4 separate regions of the Homo sapiens genome follow, and all the other regions are linked to region 2. The links are contacts of gene promoters, found by promoter capture Hi-C in human tissues and cell types (Jung and others, 2019). All regions are on one chromosome and are shown on one strand. Each heading gives the region's core, a stretch centred on a gene start or on the middle of the fragment in contact. The rest is flanking DNA. Distances are from core to core; before and after follow the strand shown.

Region 1 (2,901 bases), core at 187-2,686, 190 kb after region 2:
TGAGTTTGTCCCAGCCTGTGCCTTATACCCCAGGCTCACCGGATTCTTGCTCTTGCTGTCCTAAATTTGTTCATACACTCTTCCCAGTTTGGAATGACCTTTTTCCTCTGTTAGAGTCCCAACCAATTTTTTTTTTTTTTTTTTTTTTTTTTTTTTTTTTCCTGAGACAGGGTCTCTCGCTCTGTTGCCCAGGCTGGAGTGCAGTAGTACGATCTCAGCTCACAGCAACCTCTACCTCCTGGGCTCAAGCCATCCTCCTGCTTCAGCCTCCTGAGTAGCTAGGACTAAAGTGGTGTGCCACCACACCTGGCTAATTTTTGGCTTTGGTTTTTGTAGAGACGGGGTTTTCACCATTGTTGCCCAGGGTGGTCTCGAACTCCTGGGCTCAAGTGATCCGCCCGCCTTGCCCTCCCAAAGTGCGGGGACTGCAGGCGCGAGCCACCACTCGGGCCCCAACCAATCTTTTAAGATCCTGCTCAAAAGTCTCCGTCCCTGGGAAGTCTTTTCTGAGGCCTCTGAACTCACTTAAATGGAATGTGCCCCTATTTGGCACCTGGTCTCCTCCACTGAGATCGGGGCTTCTTGGGCAGGGTACGCTTAAGGAGAACTGGCTGCATTGGGCCACCTGCCTTAGCAGGGCCAACCAGCGGAGGAGCTGGCTGGGTGCTGGCCCGTCCCAGGGGCTGCGGAAGGGTTAAGAGAGGGCTCCAGAAGCCTGAGAAAGCCTAGGTTCCGGTTTAACCTCGGATCTAGGGCCACTGAGTCAAGACGGGACTTGCGGGGCCGAGGGCAGTTCTCCGGTGATCACCCAGGTCTCCAGGGCAATGAGAAAAGGAGGGGGCACTGCAGGAAACGTACAGGGGCGGTGTTCCTACAGGTCCAGAGCTCCTCCACCAAACTGGGTCCCAAACAGCTCTCCTACTTTCGGGTGGCCTCGGGAACGCAGGGGGAGACTTGCCAGAACGCCCGCCATTCAGCGCCCAGCTCCGTCCCTCTCGTTCTCGGCCGGGATCTCCCCGCGGCCCTTGCACAGCCTCCTCCCCCGGCCCGCCCTGCCCCCCGCTCAGCGCGGCCTCCCAGCCAGGGCGCAGGGGTTATCAAGCCCGCTAGGCCTTTACCCGCGGCTGCCCAGTTCCGGGAGCCGTCGGCCGCGGCCCAGAGGGGTCGGCTGGGCGGACGCCGGCGTCTCCCGCTAGCTCCCAGAGTCCCCGGCTCCTCGGCGTGGCGCTTCCTGCCCACCTCCGCCCGCCTGCGCGGCCCTGGCACCTGGCAGCGGGCGCGAAAGAGGACGAGCCCAGGCACTCGGGCCTGCGGGGTCCTGGGACGAGGGGGTCAGCGAGAGGGGCCCGGTGCTCCGGAGCAGGCGCAGGGCTGGAACCCCGGCGCCACCCGTCCCGCCATCGTCCCCCCTCCCTGCCTCCATCCCCGCGGGCACTGCCGCTAGTACTGCCCTCTGCAGGTTCCCAAGCGCCAGTGACACCCAGTGACCTCACTAACCACCTCCCAGGCTGGGCTGCTTGTTAGGCCCATTTTACAGATGAAGAAACTGATGCTCAGAAGGGTGAAATGACTTGTGCAGGTTGATTCAGTTAGGAAGTGGATGAGCCAGAACAACATCCCGGGCCTGAGTCTTCCTACCTTACCCCTGGGCCTCCCTGAGGCGCGGTGTCCAGGGGATTCTTCCCTCTGTCCCTCTCCGCCTCCCCAGCCTACCTTCAGGCAGAGACCTGAGCCTAAGGCTTCCTTGGGTTCTGCCTTATGTATCCGGTCCTCTTCAGAGCCCAGACCTATGTGTGTGGCTGCTGGTAACCTTGGTTAAGAAAGAAGGAAGAATGGGGGCTGAAGGACAACTTGCACCCCAACCTGCTCTTCGGGTCTGACACCCATTCATGGCCTAGCCCTGGGGCTTCCCAGTTCCCAAAGCCCCCACCCTTATCCCTACACTTCCACACACTTCCACACCCTGGGCTCACGTAGCCCAGAAGGAGGAGCCACCCACCACCCACAGCCAGGGCACGCCTTCGTATGCAAGCATGAGTGTACGATGTTCACACAACAGAGCTGTGCACTAGGGCACCCACAGAGAGGCTCTCCAGGGCAGGGCTGGGAAGAGGACTTACTGAAAACAATGTGGATGTTTCATTTAGACATTTGTTCATTCGTTGTACTGTGGTATTGGGTAGCACTGAGCACCTCACCCCCACAAGCCAGGTCCAGCACTAGGCCCTGGGCTGCCAACCACAGCAAGGCAGGCACCTCACTTTAATGGAATCAACTACCACATTTACAAATGATGTACTTCAAGGCCGAGGCAGGAGGATCACTTGAGACCAGGAGTTTGAGACCAGCCTGGGTGACATAGTGAGACCCTGTCTCTATTTAAAATGAAAATAGAAAATAAAAATATAAAAAACAGACAAACAAATGATGTACTTCAGTGGCAGAGGCAAGGCATTAGGAGAGTCTGGAAAAGGGAGTGCAGAGGAGGTAACATTTGTACTGGATCTGAAAAAATAAATCAGAGGACCAGCCGCGGTGGCTCACACCTGTAATCTCAGCACTTTGGAAGGCTGGGGGTGAGGGCAGATCTCCTGAGGCCAGGAGTTTGGGACCAGCTCAAACTCGTCACCATGGCCAACATGGTGAAACCCCCGTCTCTACTAAAAATAACAAAAATTGGCCAGGCATGGTGGCTCATGCCTGTAATCCTAGCACTTTGGGAGGCCAAGGCAGGCGGATTGCCTGAGCTCAGAAGTTCACGACCAACCTAGGCAACGTGGTGAAACCTCATCTCTACTAAAAATACAAAAATTAGCCGGGCTGGGTGGTGCATGCCTGCAGTCCCAGCTACACAGGAGGCTTAGGCAGGAGAATCGCTTGAATCCAGGAGGCGGAGGTTGC
Region 2 (3,044 bases), core at 275-2,774:
ATTGTGCCTTATAGCATTTGGGGACCAGGGGGTAACTGCCCCTCCTGAAATATCCCTCAGCCTCTTCCCTTTTCCCCAGTGCTCTGTTCAAACCCGCCTGGGAAAGGGATCCTGCCCTTAGCCCTGGCTCGTTGTGCATTGCAGTGAGGCAAAGAAGAAAGCAGGTAGATTCCTTCCGACAGGGCATCAAGTTCTTCCCGCCCACGTCCTCTAGCCCACCCCTGGTCTGCTCCCCAGCTGTTTGAAGGATAGCACAAGCCCCTCGTCCCTAGAGCTTCTCTCCCTTTTATTTATTCTCTTAACATCCCTTTCCCCCTGGCCTTCCTGCCCCCGCCCCCTTCTCAGAGCCTCCTAGACAATAGGCCCTTTGGACCGAGTTTCTCAGGGATGCCCAGGCCACCCCTCAGCTCTTCTTAGCGCTGGTCTCCAGTCCTGCCCTGGGAGCTGGAGCCTGGGTATTTGGGGACATCTTGCCTCAGTTGTATGGTTCTTTCCTGTGGGCTCAATTTTGCCCTACATAGTTGGATAAAACTCTGTGCTGTCCTGGAGAGTAAAGCTGTTCACCCACACAGCTGGGCCCGGCTTGTGCCCCGTGGAGCCTGGCACATTCCAGGCTCCTAGGAGGAGGCATCAGAGAAAGACACCCTGAGTTTTACTGGCCTGACACCCTTCTCCAGAGAAGACCTGTGAACCTGAGCCCAAGGGCAAGTGTACACTTGTTTACTGTGTAAGCAAGAGTAGAAGAATGTCTAATGTACAGTGGAACCTTGTACAGAATAAATAATAGCTTTGAGAAATCAGTTGGCAGATGTTGGAATCTTGATTTGGGAGTGTTTGAATCTAGGAAGGGCTCCTAGTATATTAGGGGCCATCTATTTCATTGTTTCAACCAGTTTGTAAATTCCAAGTTTCTGGAAAAAGTTACCCACTTTTTAGTTTGAACATTTAAGTTTAATTTTTTAAAAACTGAAACAATACATATTTTGGACACTATATTCTTCATCTGGATTCACCAATTGTTTACAAACACATTTAAATATACAGCCATCCCCCAGTATACACAGGGAGATTGGTTCCAAGATACACACATACCAAAATCTGCACCATATTCAAGTCCCAAGGTCACCCCTGCAGAACCTGCGTATATGAAAATCAGCCTTCTATATATGTGGGTTTTGCATCTTACAAATGCAGTATTTTCTATCCTTATTTGGTTGAAAAAATCCACGTGAAAGTGGACCCACACAGTTCAAGCCCGCATTGTTCAAAGGTCAACTGTACTTTATTCTGTCTGCCGAAACATTTTCAGGTGAGGTGTTATATCACCACTTCTAAATACTTGAGCATACATCTCCTAAGAATCAGGACATTCTCCTATGTGACATGGTTTTCACATGTCCATTTTTTTTTTTAATGAACTGTCTACTTTTTAATGCTGGTATGGGCTACTCTCTTAATTCTTGGTTGAAACTCTTGGGGCTGGGCATGGTGGCTCACACCAGTAATTCAAGAAGTTGAAGTGAGAGGATGGCTTAAGGCCAGGAGTTTGAGACCAGCCTGGGCAACATAGTGAGACCCTGTCTCTATGAAAAAAGAAACACTTGGGTGTTTTCACAGACCTATGATAAGATAAAATACATCTCTCCAGCAGATGTCAAATATAGCAAAACTTGCTCTTAGAGCAGAGTATCATTACCTGGATGTGGAGTGACCAGGGCTTAGTCTTTTTTTTTTTTTTTTTTTTTTTTTGAGACAGAGTTTCACTCTTGTTGCCCAGGCTGGAGCGCAATGGCATGATCTCAGCTCACTGCAACCTCCATCTCCTGGGTTCAAGCGATTCTCCTGCCTCAGCCTCCCAGTAGCTGGGATTACAGGCATACGCCACCACGACCAGCTATTTTTCTATTTTTAGTAGAGACGGGGGTGTCTCCATGTTGGTCAGGCTGGTCTCGAACTCCTGACCTCAGGTGATCTGCCTGACTCGGCCTCCCAAAGTGCTGAGATTACAGGCGTGAGCCACCACGCCCAGCCAGGGCTTAGTCTTTGATAAGTCAAAGATCTCAGCTTTACCACCTAATACTTAGAAACAGTTACCTTTATGTTACAGGCTTTGTTCCCTAAAGTGCTTTTTCTCAAGACTTCAGATTTAACCCCTAAAAGAGGTGATGCCTTTGGTGCACTCGGTGACCCACGTCTCCTTTGGTGTCACCTCTTCATTAGCACTGTTCAGCTTTTCCATTTCTGCTGCTGGTCTTAGAACTAGGGAAGCTGAAGGCTCCACCAGGTGAGCCTGGAGTGTTTCATCAGGATTCTTCCTCACTGCCTTCACTGCTCCAGACACTGAAAAATAAAGGCCTGACTATTCCATCCTTGCTGAGACAGAAGCACCTGCTGTCACTTAAGGCCTGTGTGCTGCTATCAAACCCACCTCATGGAGGGGGACAGTTGTGGGGGCATTTTTCTAAGCATTTCCCAAGAGTGAAGAAGAGGGATTGAAAATGACAGTGACTTAAAACTTGGAATTTCTCCCTGAGGGACCCAAACTTCCCTGGCCTGCCCTGAGGGTGGCCTGACCCAGGCTGTGATTGGAAATCTTACCCTGATGATTGCCCCCAAGCCGCAGGCAAACAGGATCCCCTCAAAATAAAAACATGAGGCTTGTAGCAAAGTGAATGGCTGTACTCTGACTAGTTCTTCACTGGAGGTAGAAGCAGCCCTGTAATTTTTGCTGTCTTCCACTGGGGAACAGATGGACTCTAGGAGACATTGAGGGCAGGGGCTCCACTCAGGTCCGCCACCCTTGCTCCCAGCTCTTCAGTAATTAATCTGTGGTGCTTTCTCATCCCCATGGCAACAGGTCCTAGTGTTACACAGAGCACAAACACACGCAGGTCTGTCCCCACGTTTTTTTGTCCATCAAGCTTTGCCTCCTAGCAACTTGGCTCTCTTCCCTCATTGTTTGCTCTTGATCCAGCAGGCCTCTCCCTAGGGGAGGGGCTTCCCCTGCAACTGCTCTTGTGTGACCTTGAACAAGAACCTCCCTC
Region 3 (3,171 bases), core at 57-2,556, 210 kb after region 2:
TGCACAGTGAGCAACGGGCTGGGGCCCAGATTTTAGTGTTTCCACAGAGCCCACTGGTGCAGGACTTTCCGAACATGGGACACCCAGGCCTCATGCTTCTGGAGAGGCAACTCAGAGAGGGCCCACGGACTCCCCCTACCAGGCTGTTCCCTACCCCTTTTGCGCCAGCAGGGCCCCTCCCGCACGGAATAGGACAGCTCCACGAACTCGATGTCCACGGCTGAGCGCTTGGGTAGGTGGGAGAAGCGCTGGGCTTCAGTGATGTGGTTCTCCACCTTCTTCAGGTGCGTGGTCAGCACAGGGGGTTCCGCCCCGTCCTCCAGCGTCACGGCCATGGCCACAGCCCCCGGCCCTAGTCCACAGCCCACGGCCTCCAGCGCCTTCTCCGCCATCACGCCGCCGACCTGCAAGGGGAGGGCCTGCTCAGTTTGGGGCAGACCACCGAGCCCGGCTCAAAGCTCCCTGGCGTTCTAATGCTTCCCCCGCCCCCACTGCCCACCTCCTTCTCGGGGCAGATCCGCGACTGTTAGCCCCGCACTCTGCCCCCGCCCCCCACTCTCCGCACGGAGACGCTCAGTCCCGGGCAGCCCAGCTCCAGCCTGACCCCAGCCCGTCCCCTTGAAGCCCTCAATCGCTCCTTCCTCCCGGCGGCTTCTCTAATCTCCTTACCCCGCAGGCCAGCAGCCCCTGGGGACTGAAGGAATAGGGGGCGGGGGAGAAGAGGCAGCCGGCAGAGGCTGCCCGCTCTAGGAGGTCGGGGTAGCAGGGTGAGTGCAGGGCGGACCAGGGGAAGGCGGAGAGGAGGAGGCTTCAGGCCTCCGGCTGCGTCCCACTCCCCATCCCTTGGCGCGACGCCCAGGCCGGCCCCTCCCGCCGGCACCCCCGGGCCCGCGTGCCCCGGGCTGTCCCCAAAGCCAGGCGCACCACCCGGACTCAAAACTAAGCGCCCCACGGCAGCTCAAGCCCCCGCCCCATCTCCCGCATGCCTAGTCACCTTGACGCGCCCCCGGGCCGGTGCGGGGCCGGGATGCTCAGCGCTGCCACGGACCGGGGACGGAGAGCCGGGGCTCCCCTTACCTGCCTCGGGCTGCGGCACCCGCGTCCCGGCTCCCGGTCCCGGCGGCCCGGGCCGGGGCGGGGCCGGGGCGGGGCAGGCGAGGCAGGAGGGCCGGCCCTCGGCTCGGAGGAGACGGCAAGGATGGTGAGAGGCGGTTGGGGTCGCGCCCTGACTCTGCTGGGCTGTGCACACCCGCTTCCCAGAGCCTGGTCCCGGACGCTGTGTCCTCCGAGCCCGCGGGGCGACTGCGCTCTCCTACCAGCTACTGCTCGCCGGTCCCGCCGTTCTTAAAGGGCCCGCGCCGCCCGGCAGCCCGCGGGGGGCGAGGACGGCAAAGGAGAGAGCAGCGCTTGCGGCGCGGGGGCCGGAGGAGGTGCAGGGGTGAACTCAGGACTGGGGGTTGATGGCAAAGGGCCGACTTGGAGGCAGTGAGGAAAGGAGAGCTGGAGTCACTCCGTGGGGACAAGTCCCTGGAAGACAGATTAGGCAAGGGTGTTGGGGGTGGGGGAAAGTGGAGGGATTGTAAAGGTGTCAGTCTGTCTTCACACACGATACCAGTCCCCCAACAATTTCCCTCAGTTCCAGCCCATGAATGAGCGCAGGCCTCCCTCCAGGAATCCCCAAACGAGGTGCAAAGGCTTTCAAAAACGCAGGAGCCTTGGGACATTGGAACATCCTCCTGTCTCCCCATTCACACTTTCTCTGAGTTAGGACACTAATAAAGAAGGGAAAATGGCAGCAGCTTTGGGAGAGCCTGCAGTAGCTCCAGAGTTAAACTGGAACCCAGTGCTCAGCCTGCTCCGACTGTAGTCACCTAGCCAGATACAGGCCTTCAAGACAGGCACATGCCATATCCTGGAGGGACCTGTGTGCCAGGGCATGCACAGGGCTCGCAGACATGCCCTGGGCATCTCATGCACCTGCACATTCTCTCCCTTGCCCCCAAAGCCTTCAAATGTAGGTCCCCAGAACACACTTGGGGCTTTCCCCTGCTCTGCCCCTTTCTCAGCCAATTCCTCTTGGCCCTTGCCTGTCCCAGCCACTATGTCTTCAAGGGGTAAGTAGGTTAGCTAGCCAAGACACGTGATCTGAGCTTTTAAGTTCCCACCTGTCACACAGCAGAGACGATGGGGAGGGAAGGCTCTGAGGCTGCTGGTGTGACTGCCACCGCTGAGGCTTCTCCTTACTGCAGCAGTTGAGGGTTACTAGCAGTCAAACCTCTCCCCTGCTGGCCCCCCTCCCAACCACCTCTCCACAGCCCTAAAAGCTGGCGATCCCTGGAGGATTTCTCTAGGCCCCGCCCTGTTACTCTGAGGTTTGTGTGGGGTTTGGATCCAGTCTTTCCTATCTTCCCCCAACTCCATGCCCCACATCACCACCATTCCTCAGGACCAACCTCCTGTTCTCCAGATGGACCCTCCATTCTCCAAGTCAACTTCTCATCAGCTACTATAGACCTCCCCATCCCCCAACAGTTGCATTTATTAACTACTTTGTACCAGGCATTATGTTATTTAATCTTCACAATATCCCTATGCGACAGGTTTTACAACCCCCCTTTAGAGATGAAAAACTGAGGCATAGGGAGGTTAAGCAATAGTTGGTGGCAAAGCAGGGCTTGAATCCCAAAGTCCCTGATTTTACCCTGCTAATTGGGCCTCTCAGAACCTTATTCCCAAATGGACTGTCTCCCTCTATTTTCTAGACAGGCTCTTCATCCTCCTGAGATAACCTCCATGTCTTAATGCCACCCAGCTTTATTCTTTGGCACACAACTTTCTTTCTTTCTTTCTTTCTTTCTTTCTTTCTTTCTTTCTTTCTTTCTTTCTTTCTTTCCTTTCTTTCTTTCTCTTTCTTTCTTTCTCTCTCTCTCTTTCTCTCTTTCTTTGCTTCTTTCTTTCTTTCTGATATAGTCTCGTTCTGTCACCCAGGCTGGAGAGCAGTGGTGAGATCTCAGCTCACTGCAGCCTCTGCCTCCCAGGTTGAAACGATTCTCCTGCCTCGGCCTCCTGAGTAGCTGGAACTACAGGCACACACCACCACACCCGGCTAATTTTTGTATTTTTTGTAGAGATGGGGTTTCACCATGTTGACCAGGCTGGTCTCGAATTCCT
Region 4 (2,964 bases), core at 63-2,562, 150 kb after region 2:
CTTAAACAGTTAAATACTTGAGACTGACTACATTTCATCATATAGACACAACTATAAGGAAGTAAAATTCTCCCAAATGACAAACTTAGTGGCTAAATATAAAGGAGTTATTTTTGTTCGCACTTGCAAAAAGCAAACAAACAAAAAAGCGTAATCAAAGAAGCTCAACGAACAAGTTTAAAGTCAGGACCTGTAATAAGGAGTCAGAACCGTTACCAGAAAAAAAGAACCCAGCTCAAGCGATGTAGTAGGGAGGAAGTTATTAAGAAGTCAGAATCTGCTGCTGCTTAACAGGCTCAGCCAGTCCATCTTTCAGAAGATAATAGTTCTAACCAGAACTTGTGGTTTAATCAGTGCATATCTCAGCACCAGCAATGGATCACATCCAGTGTTTCTGAGGGTAACAAAAAACTTGAGCCGGCGCTAGATGGGGAGGAAAGTTCTTTCCTTGCCTCACTTAAACATCAATATGTCTTTTATCTTCGTGTTACATCTTAATGAGAAAGGACTATACTCTCACCCAGAGCACAGCTTCCCTGAGAGCTGTCCTGACCCCAGCCAGGTTCCTCAGTCAGAGCCCATGAACCTAATTCCCTAGTCAGATCTCACCCAGCCAAGAGCCCCAGCCGGTACATCACTCTTCCTCACCCCCTCCCTGCTAACCTCCCAGGCCAATTCCGTGACCTACATCCCTACACCCTGCACAGAGCCCCAAACTCCGCACCCCTCATTGTACTTCCGCCCCACTGACTTCCCAGTTAACCTTCGCCCCAGCCCCCACTCCATCTTTGTCTGGCTACCCCAAACGCGGCACCCCAGCGTTCCCCGACTCCCAACGGCAGCCCCTCCCCCACGCCGCCCCCCACCCTCCCGGCCTCGTCCCTGCCCCCACGCCCCCGGCCGGTCACCCCGGCTCCGCGCCTCCCCGGCTTCACCAGACCCGTCCCCTCCCCCGCTTCCTCCGTCCGCTCGTTCCCCTCCCCGCGGCCCTCCGCCCACGCCCACCCTGCAACAGCGGGCGCTCAGCCGGCCTTTCACCTTGTCCATGAGCTTCCAGCACTTCTCCACCATCTTCTTGTCCACCGTCCCCGGCGGGTGGGGGCTGAGGTGGTGGTGGTGGTGGTGGTGCGGCTGGAAGGCGTCCTTCATGAGCCCAATCAGGCCACCCGAACCCGAGCCCCCGGAGCCGCTGCCGCCCCCGGCCCCAGAGCTCTTCTTCACGTTGCCGGCCATGGCCTGGGCAGGGTCGGAGCCCAGGCGGGTCCGCCGGCTCGGCTCGACTGCGAGCGAGGGAGAGAAGCAGGGCGTGAAGGAGGGGCCTCTCCCGGCCGCCGCCGCCGCCGCCGCCGCCGCCGCCGCCGGCTATCCGGGCGGAGGGAGGAGCGGCCGTGGGGAGGGGAGTGGGCGGCGCCGGGAGTGCGCGGGACGCGCCCCTTCAGAGCGCGCGAGCCCGGGGCGGGCGGGGCGCGTCCCGGAGGCGGACCGGCTTACTGGTAAGCTCGGGGAAGCGGCCGGCCGCGGCCGGACTGGGCAGCGACGATCCCCGGGCCACCGGCTTCGAGCAGCTCGCGTGCCCACAGCTCCCGGAAAGCCGCGGCCAGGTTTCTGTGCCCGTCTTCCCCGCCCCTACGCCGGGGCGGGGCGGGGCCAGGCTGGGGCGGGGTCGGCGGAACCTTTGGGCCTGCGCCCTCTGCTGGAGAAACGGGGAAAGGAGCGGCGGGGGGTTGGGGAGTAGGTCCAAGGTGGAGTCTGCGCAGTAGCCAGAAACCAAGACTTCCATGCTCCTTGTGGGCGGGAGGTTGGCGCTTCTGGGGTGGGTCATGGGAATGTTTAAATTAAGACAGGTGGCGATGGAATGGAAGAGTCCTGATGTCAAGTCTTTCCCCACCCCTGACAAATGAGGAAATCGAGCTTAGAGTTATTTGTTTATTTACACTGTGGGAGGATGGTGGGAGAAAAAGGAAAGTTATTTCTCCACCCCTTATTATTTTCAATTCTTCATTAAGACACGACCAAGGACAGGAATATGAATGCTGCGGCCCATTCCAGCCGGATTAGGCCCCAGAAAGCCTTGAGACACTCAAGCCAGGACCTCTTCTTCCAGGCCCTTTGACCTCTTGAAAAGAAATCACTTCCTTTTTTTATTTTTTATTTTTATTTTTTTGGCTTGTGAAGACTAGTTACGTTTCTGGGAATTGAATCTCAAACATGTATTTAAGATTCTCCTACTCAGAGCATTGCACCACAGGTCGGCGCCGCCAGCATGAGGGCCCCCTCAGAAGCTGACCTGCTGCTGGCTCCGCCCGAGGGGGTTCTCTCTCCCGCCCAGGGAACAGAAATGCTGTTCCTGGTCACTTCCACTTCTCAGTCAATTACACTTCTCTAATGTAAAAGTTCCGTTGGAAGAACTTTGAAAATAGGAACTTCCCTTCCAAAGAGGGAAGTGCCCTGCCCTAATTTACTAATTCTGAGCCTCAGTTTTGGGAGTTTGCAGACCCAGGTGTGTCAGTATCAGTTCCGCCTTCGATCCCCCTCCAGGCTCTTCCACAAAGCCCTTGACAGATTAGGGAGTTAAATTTATCCGGTGCTCCTGTAAAGGGGAAAATATCTTTGAATGCAGGGACCATTCAGACAGGCATCCTGGGTTTGCAATTTAATCGCCTTTATCTAGAATTGATTTTGGAGTCAACATTATAATTTACTATCAGAAGAATTTCCTTTTATCATTTTCCATCCAGGAAGAGAAGAATCTACAAAGGGAAAATCTAGGCAAAGCTCCATCCCTTAGTGCCAACACCTAGTTGCAGGTCCTCCGTTTCTTTTCCCTGGACTATTGAATATTGAAACCTTTTCCTGTGCCTTCAATTCATCCTGCCACCATAGGCTTCCTAAAGTATAGTTCAGACAGCATCGCAAAAAAACTTTAAACACCTCCCATTGCCTCGGGAATAAAATTGACAAGTT

What was found. Contacts are between HindIII fragments. The study calls those that stand out against the background at their distance.
Region 1: the fragment with the promoter of NLRX1 here is called in contact with a fragment that was not itself captured in region 2 in 1 of the 25 tissues and cell types used here (dorsolateral prefrontal cortex).
Region 3: a contact is called between the fragment with the promoter of ABCG4 here and a fragment that was not itself captured in region 2, in 1 of the 25 tissues and cell types used here (dorsolateral prefrontal cortex).
Region 4: the fragment with the promoter of CBL here is called in contact with a fragment that was not itself captured in region 2 in 2 of the 25 tissues and cell types used here (dorsolateral prefrontal cortex and neural progenitor cells).

The regions. Positions count from the first base shown.
Region 1 is chr11:119,167,260-119,170,160 of GRCh38, reverse strand. NLRX1 (NLR family member X1) reads right to left here and starts at 1,436. Exons shown (of 10, transcript NM_001282144.2): 1 at 859-1,436. RefSeq lists enhancers at 1-640, 641-1,346 and a silencer at 918-1,527. The HindIII fragment of the contact is 23,273 bases long and covers 1-2,901 here.
Region 2 is chr11:119,352,971-119,356,014 of GRCh38, reverse strand. It overlaps USP2 (ubiquitin specific peptidase 2), which reads left to right. Exons shown (of 13, transcript NM_004205.5): 13 at 1-800. Among named protein-coding and RNA genes, the nearest start is that of MFRP, 7.8 kb to the right of the region's middle. The HindIII fragment of the contact is 6,124 bases long and covers 1-3,044 here.
Region 3 is chr11:119,147,187-119,150,357 of GRCh38, reverse strand. It overlaps ABCG4 (ATP binding cassette subfamily G member 4), which reads right to left and starts at 1,306. Exons shown (of 15, transcript NM_022169.5): 1 at 995-1,306; 2 at 155-404. The coding sequence starts at 392. RefSeq lists a silencer at 1,128-1,207 and an enhancer at 1,865-1,924. The HindIII fragment of the contact is 17,825 bases long and covers 1-3,171 here.
Region 4 is chr11:119,204,687-119,207,650 of GRCh38, reverse strand. It overlaps CBL (Cbl proto-oncogene), which reads right to left and starts at 1,312. Exons shown (of 16, transcript NM_005188.4): 1 at 1,039-1,312. The coding sequence starts at 1,233. RefSeq lists silencers at 795-854, 1,045-1,234, 1,305-1,694, 1,735-1,804. The HindIII fragment of the contact is 26,271 bases long and covers 1-2,964 here.